2 separate regions of the Homo sapiens genome follow, and region 2 is linked to region 1. Evidence: promoter capture Hi-C in human tissues and cell types (Jung and others, 2019). All regions are on one chromosome and are shown on one strand. Each heading gives the region's core, a stretch centred on a gene start or on the middle of the fragment in contact. The rest is flanking DNA. Distances are from core to core; before and after follow the strand shown.

What was found. Contacts are between HindIII fragments. The study calls those that stand out against the background at their distance.
Region 2: a fragment that was not itself captured here is called in contact with the fragment with the promoter of POU4F2 in region 1 in 2 of the 25 tissues and cell types used here (bladder and heart right ventricle).

What each region holds. Positions count from the first base shown.
Region 1 is chr4:146,637,221-146,640,517 of GRCh38, reverse strand. It overlaps POU4F2 (POU class 4 homeobox 2), which reads right to left and starts at 1,625. Exons shown (of 2, transcript NM_004575.3): 1 at 1,090-1,625; 2 at 1-651. The coding sequence starts at 1,377. RefSeq lists enhancers at 945-1,526, 1,527-2,107, 2,108-2,689, 2,690-3,271. The HindIII fragment of the contact is 18,734 bases long and covers 1-3,297 here.
Region 2 is chr4:146,585,925-146,589,221 of GRCh38, reverse strand. No RefSeq gene overlaps it. Among named protein-coding and RNA genes, the nearest start is that of POU4F2, 51 kb to the left of the region's middle. The HindIII fragment of the contact is 4,220 bases long and covers 1-3,297 here.

The DNA.
Region 1 (3,297 bases), core at 376-2,875:
GATCATATTATTGTGGGACAGTGTGAGGGACTCGAACCTGCAGATGGTGCTCTGGCTAAGCGAGCCCACGCCGGGGATCTTGAGGTTGGCCAGCGCGGAGCCCACATCTGCCTGGGTCACCCCCAGCTTGATGCGTCGCTGCTTGAAGCGCTCGGCGAATGCCTCCAGGTCCCGCGGGTCGGCGTCCACGTCGCTCATGCAGCCCATGTGCGACGGCAGCCCGTGCGCGTGGGCCATGCTGAGCGCTGCTTGGTGCATGGGGTTCATGGTGGCCATGTGCGGCGCGTGAGCCGGCGTGGACACCACAGCGCCGTCGGGGCCCGCCATAGCGCCCAGGGCCAGCCCGGGACTCAGGTGCTCCAGCAGCTCGCCCTCCAGCGCCTGGTGCGGTTGGTGGTGGTGGTGGTGGTGATGGTGGTGGTGGTGGTGCGTGCCCGCCAACGCGGAAGGGTGCGAGATGGGCACCGATGAAGAAGAGGCGGCCGACGTGCACGGGATGGTATTCATAGTGTGGTAGGTGGCGTCCGGTTTGAAGGGGCTGTGGTGGGGTGGATGGTGGTGGTGGCTCTTGCTCTGGGAGACGATGTCCACGGCTGCCAGAGCCTCGGCGCGGGCCAGCAGACTCTCATCCAGCCCGCCGAATATATTGCTCTGCAATTGTAAGTAGAAGGCACACATTACGCTCAGCAGGGAATTGTACGCCCTCTCTCCGGAAGCCCCGGCCCAGGGCTCGACACCGTCGCCGCGCCTACAACATTCCCAGATCGTTAAAATAATAATAATAATAATCCTGAAAACAGAGGTGAAGAGAAAAAGAGGGAAGCCACAGAAAGAAGCCGAGAGTGCAGGAGGAGGAGGAAAGTGAGCCTGTAGACACAACGAAACACAACACAACACGCGCACAGGCAACATCCCAGGTCATAAAAATTAATATGAAAGGCAAGACCTGCTGAATACTTAAGAGAGAGAGAGGGGAAAATTGGTTGGAGGTGTGGGGTGATTTGCTGTGCAGACATGAAAAAAACATCAAGCAGATAAAGGGGGCTGTCAAAATGTGCCTTTAAGCGGTGATTATGCAGAAATACGCACCGGTGGGGTTGGAAGACAGGCTCTCCGCATAGCCTCCGAGCCCCCGCCGCCGCTGCTGCCACTGCTGCTGGAGCTGCTGCTTCGGCCTCCGCCGCCGCCGCCGCCGCCGCCGCCGCCGCCGCCACCACCAGCGTTGCTCGAGCTGCTGGGGGAGCTGGCCGAGGGCGCGATGGGAGCCGAGGAGCCCGGCGAGGTGCTGTGCAGTGCCGAGTACTTGGGCTCCACGTGCAGGCTGCCGCCGTGCGGCATGCTAAACGCCTGCTTGCTGTTCAGGGACATCATCATCATCTTCCCGCCCGCCGGGGCGCTGGTCCGTAGAGGCACTCACTGGTCCCGGCTGCCGGGACCCTCCGAGAAGTGCCGGGCCAGCCGGGGCTGGAGCTGGGAAGGGCTGTGCGAAGTTGAGCTCACCCGCCGCCGCCTCCGGACTCTGTACGCCTGATCTCGGCTACGCGCTCCTTCGCCGCCTCTGCTGTCAGTCTGAACGGATGCCTGACTCCGCTTGCCGCTAGCTGCAGACCTCGGCACCCGAAACTGCCCCCGCTCCTCGCGGCCGGCGAGTTATACTCCCCTCTCCCCGCGCCTACCCCCGCGCCCCCCGCCCTCCCTCTCTCCCTCTCTCCCGCGCGCCTCCGCCCTCCCTTGCCAGGAAACGCCGGCTCCTGTTCGGTTTCTCGCGTTGCCCCTTCTTCCTCTCTACTCCCCTCAGGCTTGAGTCCTTTCTGCTCTCTCAGCACTCGCCTCGCGCTCCCCCACCGCGCCCTCCGCCGCCTCTTTTCTGCCCCCGCCCGTGCTCTGTTGCCGCCGCCCCTTCGCAGCGTCCCGCGGCTGCTACTCACAATCGCGCCCCCACTCAACCCCACCCAAATGGCCAGGTCCGCGCTCCAGTCGCCGGGCAGTGCCTACCTAAGGACCAGCCTCCAGCCCCTCCCGCTTCTTCTGCCGGGTCTCTGTCTCACCGGAAAAAGAAACTCCCAAATAAAGTTGCGGCCCAAGCCAGCGTTGGGTAGGTAAGAGTGCCTCTTACCTGGCTGCCACCTCCTACGCCTCCTGCTTACCACTAAGTTCCAGGCTTCCAACCCCACTCGGCCCGCCCCCACCCCGTCAGCTCAGGTGACCCTGATCCCAGGTTCCCGGCCACCGCTGAGAACACAGACGTTGCGGCCAACCCGGGTTCTGCGCGCGGCTCTGAACTCCCAGCCCAATACGAGCGGAGGTCGGCGTTCGGCTACGAGCCCCCCACGGCCCGGCGGGTGCCTGGTGCCAAAGAGACATGGGGTCGGAGGGGCTGCAGGGCTTTCTCTCACTCGATTTCTCGCAGCTCTCAGCGGATTGGACAGCCGCGGAGCAGGCTCGGGTCGTCTGTGCGCATGCGACTCCTCCCCCTCCCCGCTGTCCCCACCCCTCCCACAACACACACACACATACACACAGGCACACACACACGCTCCTCTTGCCCCCCTTTTCTCTTCCTCCTCCTCCCTGTATCCAGTACAGTTCGAGTTGAGTCTTGGAAGGATCCACTGGCAAACCCTGCCCCTGGATTTATTATTCTTCATTAGCCACAATCAAAGGAAGAAGGGGCAACTGACAGGGAGAGGGAAGGTCAGAAATTACACAGCGCATATGCTGCTGAATACACCCCACAACACAGACACACACACACACACCCTCGGGGGCTGGCACAAACCTCACTTATCTTCATTTCCACAGCCTCTCGGTGCGGAGCCTATTTTTAGCTGACACTTCACTCCCACTTCTGTCCCAGTCCCAGTGCAGACCACTTTTCCTAGAGATGGACACACACTCTTGGTTCCAGTTGCAAAAGGAGATAATCTCTTTCTATCTATCTCTCTCTCTCTGTCACACACACACACACACACACACACACACACACACACTACTTCCTCTCCTTCTGGATCCCATTTTCTCTATACTTCCCGCGGTGTTGGGGGCTGCTGTCACCTCCCTAGAGAGCGGAAGGAGCAGGGTGCAGGCGAGGGTGAGAAGGCCCCGGGACCCCGACGCAGGAACCCGCGGGTGGCCCAATCCGGACGGGGGTTGACCGGGAGCAGGTGCAGGCACTGGGCGCCTGGGGAAGGCGAGCAGGTGCGAGAGCAGGCGGCAGGCCTGAGAGGCGCTGGCGCGCGCTGGGACAAAAACAGAGTGGGAAGGAGAGTGGAAAAGGGGAACCCTCGGGTGGTCAGC
Region 2 (3,297 bases), core at 504-3,003, 51 kb after region 1:
ATACTGCACAGTAACATATGCTATGGTGGGGGTGGCACAGGGTGCCATAGGGGCAGAGAATAGAAGCTCTTCCAGGTTAGAGGAGATAGAATTTCAGAGATAAAACTCCTAGAAATTAAAGTCTTTCATTTCTGCTCCCAACTGCTTAGTTATCAGAATAGACTGAATATAGAACCAAATAATAAATGCTTTACAACATCCTCACAACATCCTATGTAGTAAGTCCTACTCTTATCAGTTCTCAGGTGAAGGAATGGAAGTACAGAGAGAGTGGCAAGTTGACAAGAGTTACAGAGATAGAAAAGTGGCACAGAAAGGAAACAAACTCAGGCAGTATGGCTTCAGAGCCTGTGCTTTTAACCACTATCTTAAACATACTCTCTGAGCAGCATGCATGTGTGATAATTTGTTAACGAATAAAGTCCTCTAGGTATTTTCTAGCTGCATGTATAGGTAAGGCTTGGTACAGACTATATGAATAGTTTGGTTTTCAAAAAAGGTTTTATCAGCATGACCTAGAATGCAGAAAGACTACTTTTGTCTAAAAATTAAAATCAAATCATCTTATTTGTACTGTGATGTGAACGTCTAACACTGGTATTCACTAACCATTAATATAAAAAGAATGCAGTAGGAGCAGCTCTTTGTAATCCCCCCTTCCCTCTGTCTTTTGACATTCTCTCTTTTTTCCCCCTTTCAATTCTTTTTATTTATTTATTTATTTTTATTATACTTTAAGTTCCTAAAACCATAAAAACCCTAGAAGAAAACCTAGGCAATACCATTCAGGACATAGGCATGGGCAAGGACTTCATGTCTAAAACACTAAAGGCAATGGCAACAAAAGACAAAATTGACAAATGGGATCTAATTAAACTAAAGAGCTTCTGCACAGCAAAAGAAACTACCATCAGAGTGAACAGGCAACCTACAGAATGGGAAAAAACGTTTGCAATCTACTCATCTGACAAAGGACTAATATCCAGAATCTACAAAGAACTCAAACAAATTTACCAGAAAAAAACAACCCCATCAACAAGTGGGTGAAGGATATGAACAGACGCTTCTCAAAAGAAGACATTTATGCAGCCAACAGACACATGAAAAAATGTTCATCAGCACTGGCCATCAGAGAAATGCAAATCAAAACCACAATGGGATACCATCTCATACCAGTTAGAATGGTGATCATTAAAAAGTCAGGAAACAACAGGTGCTGGAGAGGATGTGGAGAAATAGGAACACTTTTACACTGTTGGTGGGACTGTAAACTAGTTCAACCATTGTGGAAGACAGTGTGGTGATTCCTCAAAGATCTAGAACTAGAAATACCATTTGACCTAGCCATCCCATTACTGGGTATATACCGAAAGGATTATAAATCATGCTGCTCTAAAGACACATGCACATGTATGTTTATTGCGGCACTATTCACAATAGCAAAGACTTGGAACCAACCCTAGCCCTCACTAAATATTTCTTGATTGAAGTAAATCATCCAAATGCTGTAAATGCAGGAAATACTTTTATACTCTTACTTTCATGATGTTTTCCCCAGAAACCAGCACCAACTTCAATAGAAATTATCTCTGTTAACATTTCCAAAAGAATCACTTAATACCTACCAAATACATGTTGAGCACCTACTATATGCCAGACATTATCCTAGGTGCTGGGGGCATAATATTAAACGAAAAAAATATCTTGTGTTCCTGGATCTTCTGGAAGGGGAGATTGAATAAATATGCAAATAATTAAAATATATGGAATGGAGGATAGTCTCAAGTGCTGAAAAGAAAAAGTAAAGAAGGCATATATAAGATATCAGGGGTTGAAGAAACTGGAATTTCAAGTAATGTGGCCAGGCAATGCCTCAAAGAGAAGACACTTTTTGAAGGAAAGGGAGGATAGCAAAATGAGGAAGCAAAGAAGTTGTCAGCATAAATTGCATGTTCTAGGACTAGGAAGGAAGCCAGTGTGACTGGTGCAGAGAGAACAAGAGAGAGAGTGAAAAGTGATGAAAGTTAGGGAGGTAAAGAGGCCAGATCATATAGGATCTTAAAGGCAAGAGTTAGCAGCTTTTCTTTTACCCTTAGTAAGGAAGAAGCCACTGGAAGGTTTTGAGAAGATAAATGACATTACTTGCCTTAAGTTTTTCAGGATGACTCTGGCTATTGCGCTGAGAATAGACTGCAGAGGGTGTGGGCAGAAGAGAGCAAGGCTAGTACACTAATCTAGATGATAGCTGAGTGGCTTGGGCCAGAGAAGGAGTAGAGCAGATGGTGAGAAGTGGTCTCCTTCTAGATATATTTTAAAGGTAGAACTGCCAGGTTTTGCAGATACACTGAATGTGGGTTATGAGAAAAGTAAGGGAGTTAAAGATGCCACCAAAGTGATTGGCCTGAGCAAGTGGAGAAAGGTGATGTCTTAAATTGAGCTGGTGAAGGTTGCAGGAGAAGGTGACTTGGGAGGAAAAATCAGGAGCTCAATTTTGACTATGTTTAGACTAAGATGCTTGTTACGTATGTATACAATTAATGTGTCAAGTAACAAATATGTGTTTCTGGAAAAGACATTTTTGGACATCAAGTCTAGATTGATTATTTAAATTGTTTTTTATCATTTTAATAAAAGAATTGGAAGCAGCCTGTATAAGTCAAAATAATACAGAAATTTCAAGCAAAAATGAATTATTCCAAGGAGTTAGAAGCTCACACAATTATTGAAAAAATGGATGCCAGGAAAGATTTTCAGGAAATCCAGAAATTCAGTGATCATAGAGAAGCACTACTGATGATCACTTCTATTTTCTTGATGAGGTAGGATGTAAGGTAACATGCTGAGAATAAGAGGGATAAAGAGGGTTGTGGATAGGGTTTTTGAGGAAGCAGTAAAAGACACACTTGCTCACCAAAAAAATGTCTCTGCTGAGCCTGTCCCTGATTTCTCAAACAAATAGCTAGGATTGCGACATAATGGGATTTCATGCTGTTCTCCTGTTCTGGTGCAACTCTATGAACATTTAAAGTAGTTCTGTTTAAAAGCTCTTTTAGGAGCACAGCTACACACTAGCAGACAATAAGAGATGCAAGCAGAACTCAACTCTGAACTTGTGAAACGCAGATTTACAGCCTACCCTAGAGATTCTGATTCATTAGGTTTGGGGTGAGGTCCAGGAATTTTTCATAAGTACCACAGATGATTTTGCACGCTGTGATAAACACTGCTCTGAGTGGCTCCCAAACAGAAGCTGTTGACAGGAACAGCTGCTAAGAATTAGGGGTGCCTTTGGTTGGC